4 separate regions of the Homo sapiens genome follow, and regions 2, 3 and 4 are each linked to region 1. Evidence: promoter capture Hi-C in 16 types of primary human blood cells and fetal thymus (Javierre and others, 2016). All regions are on one chromosome and are shown on one strand. The core of a region is centred on a gene start or on the middle of the fragment in contact, and the rest is flanking DNA. Distances in the headings are between cores, read along the strand shown.

What was found. Contacts are between HindIII fragments. The CHiCAGO score rates a contact against its expected background, and 5 or more counts as called.
Region 2: the fragment with the promoter of GDI1 here is called in contact with the fragment with the promoter of BCAP31 in region 1 in 5 of 17 cell types (monocytes, total B cells, naive B cells and 2 more); the score reaches 6.6 in monocytes.
Region 3: a contact is called between a fragment that was not itself captured here and the fragment with the promoter of BCAP31 in region 1, in 1 of 17 cell types (naive CD8 T cells). The highest score is 5.4, in naive CD8 T cells.
Region 4: the fragment with the promoter of DNASE1L1 here is called in contact with the fragment with the promoter of BCAP31 in region 1 in 2 of 17 cell types (naive B cells and total B cells); the score reaches 6.9 in naive B cells.

Annotation. Positions count from the first base shown.
Region 1 is chrX:153,722,261-153,725,636 of GRCh38, forward strand. BCAP31 (B cell receptor associated protein 31) reads right to left here and starts at 2,127. Exons shown (of 8, transcript NM_001256447.2): 1 at 2,074-2,127; 2 at 893-1,028. The coding sequence starts at 984. It overlaps ABCD1 (ATP binding cassette subfamily D member 1), which reads left to right and starts at 2,596. Exons shown (of 10, transcript NM_000033.4): 1 at 2,596-3,376. The coding sequence starts at 3,007. RefSeq lists silencers at 1,406-1,585, 1,796-2,755 and an enhancer at 3,216-3,376. The HindIII fragment of the contact is 9,880 bases long and covers 149-3,376 here.
Region 2 is chrX:154,435,558-154,438,403 of GRCh38, forward strand. GDI1 (GDP dissociation inhibitor 1) reads left to right here and starts at 1,597. Exons shown (of 11, transcript NM_001493.3): 1 at 1,597-1,742. The coding sequence starts at 1,698. ATP6AP1 (ATPase H+ transporting accessory protein 1) reads left to right here. Exons shown (of 10, transcript NM_001183.6): 10 at 125-959. The coding sequence ends at 334. RefSeq lists an enhancer at 1,129-1,629. The HindIII fragment of the contact is 14,364 bases long and covers 1-2,846 here.
Region 3 is chrX:152,998,424-153,001,969 of GRCh38, forward strand. No RefSeq gene overlaps it. Among named protein-coding and RNA genes, the nearest start is that of PNMA5, 6.1 kb to the left of the region's middle. The HindIII fragment of the contact is 1,075 bases long and covers 1,025-2,099 here.
Region 4 is chrX:154,407,770-154,411,487 of GRCh38, forward strand. It overlaps DNASE1L1 (deoxyribonuclease 1 like 1), which reads right to left and starts at 1,485. Exons shown (of 8, transcript NM_001303620.2): 1 at 1,343-1,485. The HindIII fragment of the contact is 12,936 bases long and covers 1-3,718 here.

The DNA of each region.
Region 1 (3,376 bases), core at 877-3,376:
TGAATCCGGACCCAACAAGGTACCGATTTGGCATTCGGTAGATAAACGTCTTAAATCCAGCTTATTCTGGAAGCTCCCCCTTCCCTCTCCCTCTTTCATTTGCTTTTCCAGTTTCCTTTGTGTAGAAATCAGATTGTCTGTCCTCTAAAGCTTCCCAGATTAAAGCTCCCCGGGGCCCTCTATCTCTGCACGTCTTGTCAACTGTACGAAGGTGTGGTTTTCTACAAGAATCCTCCTCAGACAGCACTGCATACTTTCTATGGTATCACATCAAAGATAATTTTTCACGAAAAAACGGCTTTTAAAAATACCTGTGGAGATTTGGCCTTATTTGTAATATCGTAATTTAAATAGGGATGTGTTCAGGTATTATACATAATTAAAATTAATCTCCAATTCACTTTTAACAGGTCCTCTGTTCATTAAAAGGGAATATGGCTTCATCCTCCACAGGCTGAGTAATGTTCATGCAGCCACTGCGCAATACCAGTGAGACTAGTTAGGAGGACAAGAGTCACCAAATCAGCAACAACGTGACCCAGTGGTGCAAGTCTTCCGAATCCCACGCTACCATCCCAGCACCCCGTGGACCAAGAGTGGGTGGGAGGGCATCATTTCCAGAACTGTAACATAGATCTTCCTGCCTCTCGGGGGCATTCTGAAGACCAGAAGGCAGGGGACACAGGAAAAGGAACTGAGCAAGTCATGACGAAGCAGAACCCTGGGAAGGGTTGGCAATAACAAACACAACCCCTGCCACCCCCACCCCAGACAGGTTCTACCTGTTCCATCGGGTCCCAATTCCAGGGTCCACCAGCTGCACACACCAGTCCCAGGGCTAGGGCACAGGCACCCTCCTGCCTAACTCGCCTGCTTGCTCCATAGGCCATACCTTTTAGGAGAAATGAAGGGAATGCAGAGAAGCAACACAACAAAGACCTCCGCATAGAGGAAGGTGGCAACTGCAGTCCACTGCAGACTCATCCTGTTGCTAGAAGGTTTCCCACAGGAAGATGTGAGCTTGTTTCCTGGCAGGGCACAAAAGGTACGGGACTTGTAAGCGCTGGGCAGCCAAGAACATCCAGTTCAGTTACCCTGCGAGGCTGGGGCCGCCACTCTCCACCCTGACCCCCTGCACTTTGCTTCAAAGTCTCTGATGCGCTGGCGGAAGCAGGGCTCCACTCGGCAGGGCCTCTTGGCCAGCAGCGTTCACAGGCCCCACAAACTTCCGTTCGCTGGTCAATTACCTGCCCCCTCCAGCACGTGTGTCAACACGTCCAGAGCGGCCTCTCCCGACGATCCCTGCCCCAGGAAGCCCGAGATTTCCGACGCCCGTTTAACTGAAAGGCGTTCTTCGGGAAGAGCAGTGCCAGGGCACCAAGAGGAGGACGCCTCGGCACCCATCGGGCGCTCCCTTCCCCGCCAGGCAGAACTCAGCCGCAGAGGCGGGCGCTCTGCGGGCCCAAATCCCCGCTACCAGGCAGGCCCAAGGCCGCACCTAGTCCAAGCGCTGCCGACGCCCCCGCCTCCCACCGTCCCCACGGCGCCCGCGGAGAGAAACCGGCACCTCCCTCGAGGATCCAGCGGCCTTCCGCCCGGGGCCGCTTCGCCTCCGGTGGGCTGGAGGCCCGCAAGAGCGACTCCTAGAGGGCAGGATTCGGGACCAAGCGCAAAGGCAGGTCTCGACCAAGCACCTCAAGGCCCCATACGGAGAAAGTTCTAGACGCAGTATCCTCAGAAGCCAGGGGTCCTTACAGTAGCCCTCGCGGGCCCCAGCGCCCACCCAGAGCGAGGGGCCTCCGACTTGGCCCCGGCCTGGCACACCGTCCCGGAGGCCCATCCCGGCCGCTCCTCCAGGTGGGGCTTCACCGCCCCCCGCCCCGCCCCCGAGACCAGCTTCTAGAGGCGCCGCCCGGTTTCCCCTCGCCCCTGCCTCTCACACGCAGGTAGGCTGCGGGCCCCGAGATTCCCCGGCCCCCGGGCCTCCCCGCGCCGCTCGCCTCTCTCCCTCGTCGATGGGCCGGGGAGCCTCCGCGGTCCCGGAGCCCAGCCCGGCGCGCGGAGCCCGCTCACCGAGTTTCCCACAGTCAACGTGCAGGCCCCGCCGCAGCAACAGAACTCTCCCACAGCAGCCCCGGCCCCGCCCCTCATACCGCGGCCGGAAACCGGAAGCGCCCGCCGGGCACCGCCCACCAGCCCTCGCGAGGCCCCGGAGGCTCCGCCCACCTCCGCTTCCCACCCCGCCCCGGAGCGGAGGGCCGGCGCTCCGAGCGGGAGAGGAAGAGGCGCCTCGGGCTCCGGGCGAGCAGGGCGGGGTGGAGCGAGCACGCGGGCGGGGCGGGGCGGGGCTTTGTCGGGCCGGCGAGGGCCGCTTCTCTAGTCCGCGCGGCCGTCCCACGTCTCTGTGGTGCGGGAGGGGCCCCGCCGAGGGGCGAGAACGGGAGGTGGGGGTGTGGGCGGGCCCCGCCGAGGGGCGAGAACAGGGTGGGGCTCCCGCGCCCGGACTCCGCCCCTCGCCCCTCCTCCGCCTCCTCCCCTTCCCCCGACTCGCCCCTGGGGAAGAGTGGGTGGGGATTCTGGGCCGGTGGAGGAGTCACTGTCGCTTCAGCCAGGCTGCGGAGCGGACGGACGCGCCTGGTGCCCCGGGGAGGGGCGCCACCGGGGGAGGAGGAGGAGGAGAAGGTGGAGAGGAAGAGACGCCCCCTCTGCCCGAGACCTCTCAAGGCCCTGACCTCAGGGGCCAGGGCACTGACAGGACAGGAGAGCCAAGTTCCTCCACTTGGGCTGCCCGAAGAGGCCGCGACCCTGGAGGGCCCTGAGCCCACCGCACCAGGGGCCCCAGCACCACCCCGGGGGCCTAAAGCGACAGTCTCAGGGGCCATCGCAAGGTTTCCAGTTGCCTAGACAACAGGCCCAGGGTCAGAGCAACAATCCTTCCAGCCACCTGCCTCAACTGCTGCCCCAGGCACCAGCCCCAGTCCCTACGCGGCAGCCAGCCCAGGTGACATGCCGGTGCTCTCCAGGCCCCGGCCCTGGCGGGGGAACACGCTGAAGCGCACGGCCGTGCTCCTGGCCCTCGCGGCCTATGGAGCCCACAAAGTCTACCCCTTGGTGCGCCAGTGCCTGGCCCCGGCCAGGGGTCTTCAGGCGCCCGCCGGGGAGCCCACGCAGGAGGCCTCCGGGGTCGCGGCGGCCAAAGCTGGCATGAACCGGGTATTCCTGCAGCGGCTCCTGTGGCTCCTGCGGCTGCTGTTCCCCCGGGTCCTGTGCCGGGAGACGGGGCTGCTGGCCCTGCACTCGGCCGCCTTGGTGAGCCGCACCTTCCTGTCGGTGTATGTGGCCCGCCTGGACGGAAGGCTGGCCCGCTGCATCGTCC
Region 2 (2,846 bases), core at 347-2,846, 710 kb after region 1:
GAGAGACGAAGAGAGGCTTGGGCTTGGGCATGTAGTTGAGAGTCCTGTCCCTGCGCTGCCCCTGTCCCAGTTCTTGCTGGGCCTCCCAACGGTCCTTTCTGACCCGTGTCTGTGTGTCTGCCAGATCCAGGCTTTCAACGTAATGGGGGAGCAGTTCTCCTACGCCAGCGACTGTGCCAGCTTCTTCTCCCCCGGCATCTGGATGGGGCTGCTCACCTCCCTGTTCATGCTCTTCATCTTCACCTATGGCCTGCACATGATCCTCAGCCTCAAGACCATGGATCGCTTTGATGACCACAAGGGCCCCACTATTTCTTTGACCCAGATTGTGTGACCCTGTGCCAGTGGGGGGGTTGAGGGTGGGACGGTGTCCGTGTTGTTGCTTTCCCACCCTGCAGCGCACTGGACTGAAGAGCTTCCCTCTTCCTACTGCAGCATGAACTGCAAGCTCCCCTCAGCCCATCTTGCTCCCTCTTCAGCCCGCTGAGGAGCTTTCTTGGGCTGCCCCCATCTCTCCCAACAAGGTGTACATATTCTGCGTAGATGCTAGACCAACCAGCTTCCCAGGGTTCGTCGCTGTGAGGCGTAAGGGACATGAATTCTAGGGTCTCCTTTCTCCTTATTTATTCTTGTGGCTACATCATCCCTGGCTGTGGATAGTGCTTTTGTGTAGCAAATGCTCCCTCCTTAAGGTTATAGGGCTCCCTGAGTTTGGGAGTGTGGAAGTACTACTTAACTGTCTGTCCTGCTTGGCTGTCGTTATCGTTTTCTGGTGATGTTGTGCTAACAATAAGAAGTACACGGGTTTATTTCTGTGGCCTGAGAAGGAAGGGACCTCCACGACAGGTGGGCTGGGTGCGATCGCCGGCTGTTTGGCATGTTCCCACCGGGAGTGCCGGGCAGGAGCATGGGGTGCTTGGTTGTTTCCTTCCTAATAAAATAAACGCGGGTCGCCATGCGTTGGGCCTCTTGTCGCTCATTTCTGCGCTGGGCTTTAGGCGCGTGCTCGCCGGAGGGATGCGGGAGGATGGAGCCTGGCGAGGGGGAGGCGAAGAGGCATCCGCGGAGACCGGGAGGGGCTTTAGCAAGCTGGGCCCTAACCGCTCAGGGTAGGGAGGGGCGGTCGGGCCGAGTCCCGGTGCGCTTCGGCGTCTCAGGAGGCCGTCGTGACAATGGCAGCCTTCGCGTCGTGAGGGGGCCGCCCCAGGCTGCCGCAGCGGCGCGCGCCCGGCCGCGGGGCCGCGCCGAGACTCCCGGGGGGGTGGGCGGGGGTGGGGAGGTGGGCGGGCGCGCGCGGGGCGGGGCGGGGCGGGGCGCGGCGGGTGGGGCGGGGCGCGCGCGGCTCCCGCGCACGGATTCTTCCTGGGCCGCAGCACCGGCCGCCGGCCCGCCCCGCCCGCCCCGCCCCGCGCCTCTCTAGACTCTCGGCGAGCAGCGTCGCCCGCGGAGCCGCGCTGGTGCTGTGGCCCGGGCCCTGGCAGCCCTCCCGGGAGGCGAGCCGGGGAGGCGGTGGCCCCTGCCGGTTGCGGCGGGGCGCGGGAAGAGGCGGGACTCTTTGACGCGGCGGAGGGGTCGGGCGACGGCCGACGCGCCGCCATCTTTGGTCCAGTGCGGTGGCGGCGGCGGCGGTGGCGGCGGCGACTGCTGCGGTGAAGGAGGAGGAGGAGCCGAGCGGGCGCTGGCACCGAGGCCTGACCATGGACGAGGAATACGATGTGATCGTGCTGGGGACCGGTCTCACCGTAAGTGCGGCCCCGGCGCCCCTGGCCCTGCGTCGTGCCCTCGCCATCCCCCGCGATGATGCGGCCGCCGGCCCATCCTCTGGTCACTGCCATCTTCTGCGCTCCGCTCCCCGAAAAGCCGGCGCCGTGCCCACCCCGCTGCTCCCCCAGCGACGTCGCCTCTGCTCGTTGCCATGACCCCATCTCCCCGAAGAGGCCCCCTTCCTGGCCGCCTCCTGGGCTACCCGGGTCCGACCCCCGGCGCCCTCCCATCTTCCCTACCCCTGCCCGCTGGACCGGAAAACGCACCCCCACTCGGCCCGATGCCCACGACCCCGCCCACCCATCGCCCCCACCCATCACGGCATCCACCCGTCGCCCGCACCCATTGCCCGCCTAGCGTTGCCTCTCAGCGTCCGTTCCCATCTTGCGCTAATCCCGGTGGGGATGAAGTAGAAGGACCTGGGGTCAGGGGGCCTCGCCAGAGTGGGCCCTCAGCCCGCCTCCTCATCGTCTTCTGGGGCCAGGGGATCCAGGGAATGTTCCAGAAGGAACAGCAGTGGGGGCAGTAAGCACATTCCCGCAACCCCACCTCGGTTGCCCATGGAGACCTCAGGCTGGGTAGCATCTGCAGCCTTTGTCCTTGGGCTAGTGACAGTGACTGGTGAGGGTGTTTATCTTCCCCCTTTCCCCGAAAACCCCGTTGGCCTACTCCCCTCAGAGACTCTTCTTCCTCGGTCCAGGCCCAGATGCCCCTCCTCAGCGGCAGGGGCTCCTGCTATTTGAAGAAAGAGCAGTCCAGGGTGGGGCCTACAATTTCAAGGACTGTGCTAAGCCTTTCTTTTCCTCCCTTTCGAGTGTCCTTTGCAGTCCAGCTGGGTCTTCTCTGTGCCTTATTGTGTTTTATCCGCCTTTTTGTGCGGCTCTGCGTAGGTAGATGCCTCTCGGCGTGTTGGTACTGGAAGGCCATCCTGTGTCTGCTGGATGCCCTGCCTCCCTCAAAGCCTCCGTTATTTCACTCTCCGCCTTGTGAGGGGGACGGGACTCCTTTGCCCAGCAAGGTTGCAATGGAGAGTGTGGTCGGATGAAGCCATCACCCCAATTTTAGGCGAGGCAACTAGCCAG
Region 3 (3,546 bases), core at 312-2,811, 720 kb before region 1:
ATATAATATATGATATGAATATATAGTATATTCATATTATATATAATATATATAATAAAGAAAATTATATATAATATATATAATATATAATACATATACTATATAATATATATAAAATATATATATAATATATATAAATAATATATATATAAATATATGTTATATATATTATATATAAAATATATATAAATATATATTATATATATTATATATAATATATATATAATATATAATATATATAATATATAAAATATATATTATATAATATATATTATATTATATATTAAATATTATATAAAAATATATATAAGACATTTATATATAATATATTATATATATTATATATAATATATATAATATAGATATATAAAAAACATTTTCTTTATCCATTCATCTGTCAGTGGTCACTTAGGTTGTTTTCTTATCTTAGCTATTGTGAATAATGCTGAAATGGACAAGAGAGTCCAGATACCACTTAGAGATAGTGATTTTATTTGCTTAGGATATCTATCCATAGTGGAATTGCTGGATCATACAGTAGCATACATGGACAATTAATTTTCAACAAAGCTGCCAAGAATACACAATGAGGAAAGTGAGATGGAGCAGGGACCCCGTCTCAGGGGTCTGCAGGCCCCCTTAAGCATATAAATAAAGGAAAATGTTGAGTTCTTTCAGGGGCAATGCCAGGCACCTAGCTAGCCCTGAGAAGTAAATAAGCAAGTTGATAAGCAAGAAGGTAATAGCTTAAAACAACAGCCAAGGAAGCTACAATCACAGGATGTTTTCTTTCCCTATAGAAACTAAAGATAACATGTTAACATATATCTCTGAGTTGTTTTTCAGAAACTTGGATCCCCACCAAACTGATCAGCTGGCATGCAGACCCCAGAAAAGGGGGAGCTGAGGACTGAACTCTGACCACCACTCTTTGTTCCAAACTTCTTCATGAGGGGCCTGGAGGAAATCACATCCATCTGTCAGAGCTAATATTCTTTTCTGCTGACCCAAAAATTTTAAACAAAGCTTCTCTTGCTTAACCAACTGCAAACCAAAAGACCTTTGAACCTACTTATGGCCTGTAAGCCCTCACTTCAAGATATCCCACCCTTTTAGGCCAAAACCAATGGGTAACCTCTGTGTAATGATTTATGAATTAGCCTGTAACTTCTGCTTTCCTGAAATTTACTCCTACCTTTAAAAGCCCTTACCTGCAAGCCATCACGGAGCTCTGGATTTGAGCGTTAGCTGCCTGATCCTCCTTGCTTAGTGCCCTGCAAATAAATGTCTTCCTTTCCACCACTGCAAACCTCAGTGTGGATATCTGATCTTACTGTGATGGGCAAGACAACTCCAGTTCAGTTCAATAACACTTGGCCACAACTCAAAAGCCCTGAGTGGGTGTCTTGCCAATAGCATATCAGCCCCTGGCTATGAGCACCCTTGGACCCTGTCCAGTAGCTGCCTGAATTATTTTATTCAGGGATGGATCTGTGTATTTGGCTGCCACCAAGGCATCACTGGCTTGTGTTGCTTTTACTTTTGCAGCATTAGAAATGAGACACTTGGCTGGGAAGACATTTTTTGGCAGGTGACAAATTTGTGGGCAATAGCCCCAAGGTATATTTTCTTCAAACACTACGTTCTGCATTGGCAGGACATCTGGCCTTGCTTTGGCAATTTACGGGACTCTGCTTCATCATAGTGTGTTTAGTAGGGAATACTCCATAAGCAACTGAAGGGATGGAGACTTTGAGAAATCACATTTTGATTTTGATTTGCTTGCTTGACAATCTGCCTAAAGCCCAGCTGAGGCATTAAGGGTTTTTCACCTAAGGTCTTGTCATCTAAAATGGAAACTACAAATTATGTTCCTCCTTGTAGCCCATTATGGTGCATTCTGCAGAATCGGGCCATTTTTAGCTTTGAGCCCATGAAAAAGAAAAATGTTTTTAATGTTGAAATTCTGCCTGACCACGGTATCCCCTAGGATCCAGGGAATGGTAGCCAGAATTTAGATATCTAAATTACATTATAATTTTTCAATTAGAATTGTTTTGTGAACAAGAAGGTAAATGGGATGAAATTCTGAATGTACAAGCTTTTATGCTTTTGTACCAAAGTGAGCTAATTCAAAGAAGGTATAATTTGCATAGAATCATGGTTGAAAGAAATGCCTCTAAGGTGAAAGAGGTAAAGGTTTTACCCGGTTCTCAAAAATCAGAAGATGACTTACTACTTCAACAAATGAATGCACCAATCCTATCTCTCCACCTTATGGGGGGCGAGATATGGAAGCCAGAGCAATGGCCCCGCCCCCCTGCTCAGGCAGGAATGGGAGCCCCTATTACCCTGGCTGGACTGGGGAATAATAGTGACGTAAACAGGCCAGGAGTGCTCTCTCCTTCACACACCTGACAGGGCACTCAATATCGTCAGGGAGCCACTCTGGTTGAGGTAGGGCAATTCCATTAGGCAAGTACCCATTGGCAGAATCAATGCCCAGGGTCAGCCAGCGGGACCTGTGTGGGTACACGTGCCATTCTCAGTCTCTGACCTATACCATTGGAAGGATAACATGCTTACCTACTGGGGTGACCCAAGGAGGATGGAAAATGTGTTCTCCATTTACACTACTCATAATCCTAACTGGGAGAATGTGCAATATTTACAAAATGCACTACTTACCTCCAAAGAGTGGAGAATAGTTTTAGAAAAAGCTAGAGAAGAAGCTGACCAGTAACATACTGAGACTGCCAGCAATCTGGTCTGGGCAGCTACTGCTGAGGCTATAGCCTAACACAAGCAGTCTTAGCTCCTCCCAGCCTCCCATTGGCCCAAGTGTCTGGGCTTTAAGATGTTCTCAATAATATTGGTGGTGTGTTTTCCTGCTCCGTGGTCAAAAAGGGCATCTTGGAGCTCACATGCTTGTTCTGGTGGCACCTCAATGTCCAATTTTCCCAGAGCAAAGGTTACTGTGGCAATTAACTTAGTTAACACGTCCTGTCCCAACGAAGGGACTGGGCATTCTGGCATGTGCAAGATCCTGATAGGATCCAAATCATGAGAGTCAAGCTCATTGCAAGCATTAAAGAGATTGAATTTTAGCAGTCCTGAGGAAAGGGGTCTCAAAGTAGTGTAGCTTTAATAAATTTCAGGAAATGTGACAGAGGCCAAATGAAAACTCATCTGAAAGTTTTTGGAGATAATTTTTGAAGCCTCCTGGCAATGTCAACTGAGATAGATCCTGAGGCCCCTGAGAACCTCAGATTAATTAACATAACTTTTATTAGTCAAAGCACTCCTGGCATTCAGAAAAAGCTATAAAAATTAGAAAGTGTTTTTGGAATGTCTATCTCTTAACTGTATAGATTGCTTTTAAGGTGTTCAAAAACTGAGATCAAGCATTGGATCATAAAGAGCAACAGAGGATGGAAAAACAGGCATCTTTGTTGGTTGCTGCTCTGTTCACAGCACTTGAAGTAAAGAAGCCCAATGAGAAGGTAGACACCCCTGGAAACAAGAAAGGCCTCCAGAAAGGCGATC
Region 4 (3,718 bases), core at 235-2,734, 680 kb after region 1:
TTTTTTTTTTTTTTTTTTGATAGTCTCATTCTGTTGCTCAGGCTGGAGGGCAGTAATGTGATCTCAGCTCACTGCAACCTCCACCTTCCAGGCTCAAGTGATGCTCTCACCTCAGCCTTCCGAGTAGATGGGACTACAGGTGCATGCTGCCACACCAAGCTAATTTTTTTTTTCTTTTTTTGAGATGGAGTCTCACTCTGTCTCCCAGGCTGGAGTGCAGTGGCTTGATCTCAGTTCACTGCAACCTCCGTCTCCCAGGCTCAAGAGATTATCCTGCCTCAGCCTCCCAAGTAGCTAGGATTACAGGCACGTGCCACCACACCCGGCTAATTTTTGTACTTTTAGTAGAGACAGGGTTTCACCATGTTGGCCAGGCTGGTCTCAAACTCCTGACCTCAAGTAATCCTCCCACCTCAGCCTCCCAAAGTGCTGGAATTACAGGTGTGAGCCACCGCGCCCGGCTACCAAGCTAATTTTTAAAATTTGTTTGGAGAGATGGGGTTTCACCATGTTGTTCCAAGACCCCAGTGCTTTTCGCCTCCATTAGCAACTACAGGAACATCTTCGTTCATCTCTGTCTCCCCACTTGTGAGATGTTCTCTTTAAGATAAACTCCCGGCAGTGAAGGGTGTGTGCATTTTAAAAGGTCTCAGATATGGCCAAATCATCCCCATTGCAACCTGTGATGGGGACTCTTTCCCATGCCCCTGCCACCACTGGGGAGCCCTTCTTGTTCATCTCACCAGCTGGAGCCCCCCTCTCTCAGTTTATCTTTGTCTCACACTCACCTGACCTTGCAGGGCTCGGCTCCTTGCTCCACGCCCTGTCCATGTGGCTTTTGCATCCTGAGGCATGAGTTCCTCTGCTCTGTCTGCCTGCTTTTCTCTATCAACCTGTCACCTTCCCTTCGGGCTCACTTCCTACCTCTCTGAGGCTCTGTCCGTCTCTGTCTCACTTTCCCTCTCGTCTCTGGTTTCCCTTCTCTGTCTCTCTGTTGCGGTGTCTCTCTCCTGGCTGGGTTTGATGTCTGTTTCTCCCTGACCACCTGCTCTGTCACTCATGCTAGTTTGGGTTCCCTACCCTGGTGCCTATTCTGGGATATACATGGGTATGTGGGCAGCCCTGGGCTGGCACATGCAGCCTTGGAGGCTCTGGCGTCAGGGACCCCCATGAGGGCTACCAGTAAGAACCAGAGAGAGCGACGGTTCCTGGCTTCAGCCCCAAACCCTGGCTGTCAATATCAGCCTTGGTGGGAGCCCTAGGCTTCCCTCTCCCTCTCAAACCCTCCCCAGGCAGAAGGCAACTTCCTCCCTTCTTCCGTCTCCCCAGGGGGCTCCCATACCTGCTCAGACCAGCTTGTCACCAAGTCTGCCTCATCCTTAAGTGGATCGCGATACCCCAGAAGAGCAGCTCCTGCCTGAATAGGGCTAGGAGGGGAAAAAAAAGAGGAAGAGGCTGTGTTCCTGAGCCACCCGGCCAGGAAGGGCCTGGCTGGGCCGGACGCCCCACCCTTGCCAACAGGCAGGCCCGCCCCGTCTCCGCCTCGCCGCCAACAAGGAGGACCAGCACCAGGCCTGGGAACTGCTGACCTGCCCGCCCACCTTCCCACCCAGACCCCGCCTTCCCGGGCCAGCGGGACATGACAGACCTGTGAGTCACTCAAGCCTGGGGCAAGGAGGGGCTGGTGCCTGAGTGAGACCCCGAGCTTCGCTCGCCAGGCCCGTCGCTCAGCTCCCGGTCTGGGTCCCCAGTCAGCAGTTGCTGGGGAAGGCGCAGGAGCTGGAAGTCATGCCTGATGCCACGAGACCGGGCACCCCAAGGGCGTGAGTCTTCTGTCCCTGTTGTTGGGTTCTGAGTCCCAGTGTGGCTGCACACTTCTGAGTTAGGGGTGTTTGATGCAAGCGCTCTGGAGACCCAAAGAGAGGGACAGTCCACACATGATCTGGCCACAGTCGTGAAGTCAAGGGAGGACTGAGGATCTGCCCCAGAGAGGAGGAGACCCAGGGAGCTGGCAGTCCAACGTCCTGGGGGTCCTGCAGTAATGCTGTTGGGACAAATGAGGTGCTCGGACAGGGTCTGTGAGCAGGAGGTGGGGCTGAATCCACTCAGCTTCTCATGGGATGGCTGTAGCTAATGGATTCGACGTGGTAATAGAAGGCTGGACAAATTTTAAAAAATCAATAAATTATGGGCTGGGCGTGGTGGCTCATGCCTGTAATCCCAGCACTTTGGGAGGCTGAGGCGGGTGGATACGAGGTCAGGCGTTCAAGACCAGCCTGGCCAACATAATGAAACCCGTTTCTACTAAAAATACAAAAAATTAGCCCGGCGTGGTGGTGGGCGCCTGTAATCCCAGCTACTCAGGAGGCTGAGGCAGGAGAATTGCTTGAGCCTGGAAGGCGGAGCTTGCAGTGAGCCGAGATCACACCACTGCACTCGCACTCCAGCCCGGGCGACAGTGCGAGACTCCATCTCAAAAAAAAAAATCAATAAATTATGGTTTAAAAATAAAAAACAGGCCAGGTAGGATGACTCACACTTTGGGAGGAGAGGCAGACAGATCACCTGAGGCCGGGAGTTCGAGACCAGCTTGACCAACATGAAGAAACCCAGCCTCTACTAAAAATACAAAAATTAGCCAGGTGTGGTGGCTTGCGCCTGTAATCCCAGCTACTCAGGAGGCTGAGACAGAAGAATCGCTTGAACCTGGGAGGCAGAGGTTGCAATGAGCTGAGATCTCGTCACTGCACTCCAGCCTGGGCAACAGAGCAAGACTCTGTCTCAAAAATAAAAATAAATAAAAATAAAAATAAAAAACTGCCGGGTGCGGTGGCCCATGCCTGTAATCCTAGCACTTTGGGAGGCTGAGGTGGGTGGACTGCCTGAGCTCAGGAGTTCGAGACCAACCTGGGCAACATGGTGAAACCCCATCTCTACTAAAATACAAAAAAAAAAAAAAATTAGCCGGGCGTGGCGACCTGCGCCTGTAGTCCCAGCTACTCAGGAGGCTGAGGCAGGAGAATAGCTTGAACCCGGGAGGCGGAGGTTGCAGTGAGCCGAGATTGTGCCACTGCACTCCAGTCTGGCGACAGAGCGAGACTCCTAAAAAAATAATAATAAATAAATAAATATAAAATAAAAATAAAAAACTGGCTGCTTAATGCATAGGGGGCTTTCTTTCCGGGTCATGAATATGTTTCAGAACTAGAGGTAGTAGCTGACATTGTGACTGTATCAGATGGTATAAAATACTGTTTCTTGTATTACATATGATACACAATATGTTTGTATATATTGCTGTATATATTGTATATTTTGCCATACAGTAGATTATACATTGCTACATACACATAGTATCATGTAGTACTGTAACTATGTCAAATTGTATATGTGGCTGGGCGGGGTGGCTCACGGCTGTCATCCCAACACTTTGGGAGGCCGAGGCGGGTGGATCAGAGTGTGATGGCGGGCGCCTGTGGTCCCAGCTACTCGGGAGGCTGAGGCAGGAGAATCGCTTGAGTCTGGGAGATCGAGGCTGCAGTGAGCCATGATCCCATCACTGCACTCCAGCCTGGGTCTGGCTGGACCCTGTGTCAAACAAAAAACAGAAACACTAGAGAGACAAAAGGCGAGCGCAGGAGGCTGCCAGGAAGCGGGAGCCCCACGGGGTGACGGCCACTTCCCGCCGCCCCGGGGCTGGCCTCGCTGCCGTCAAGCG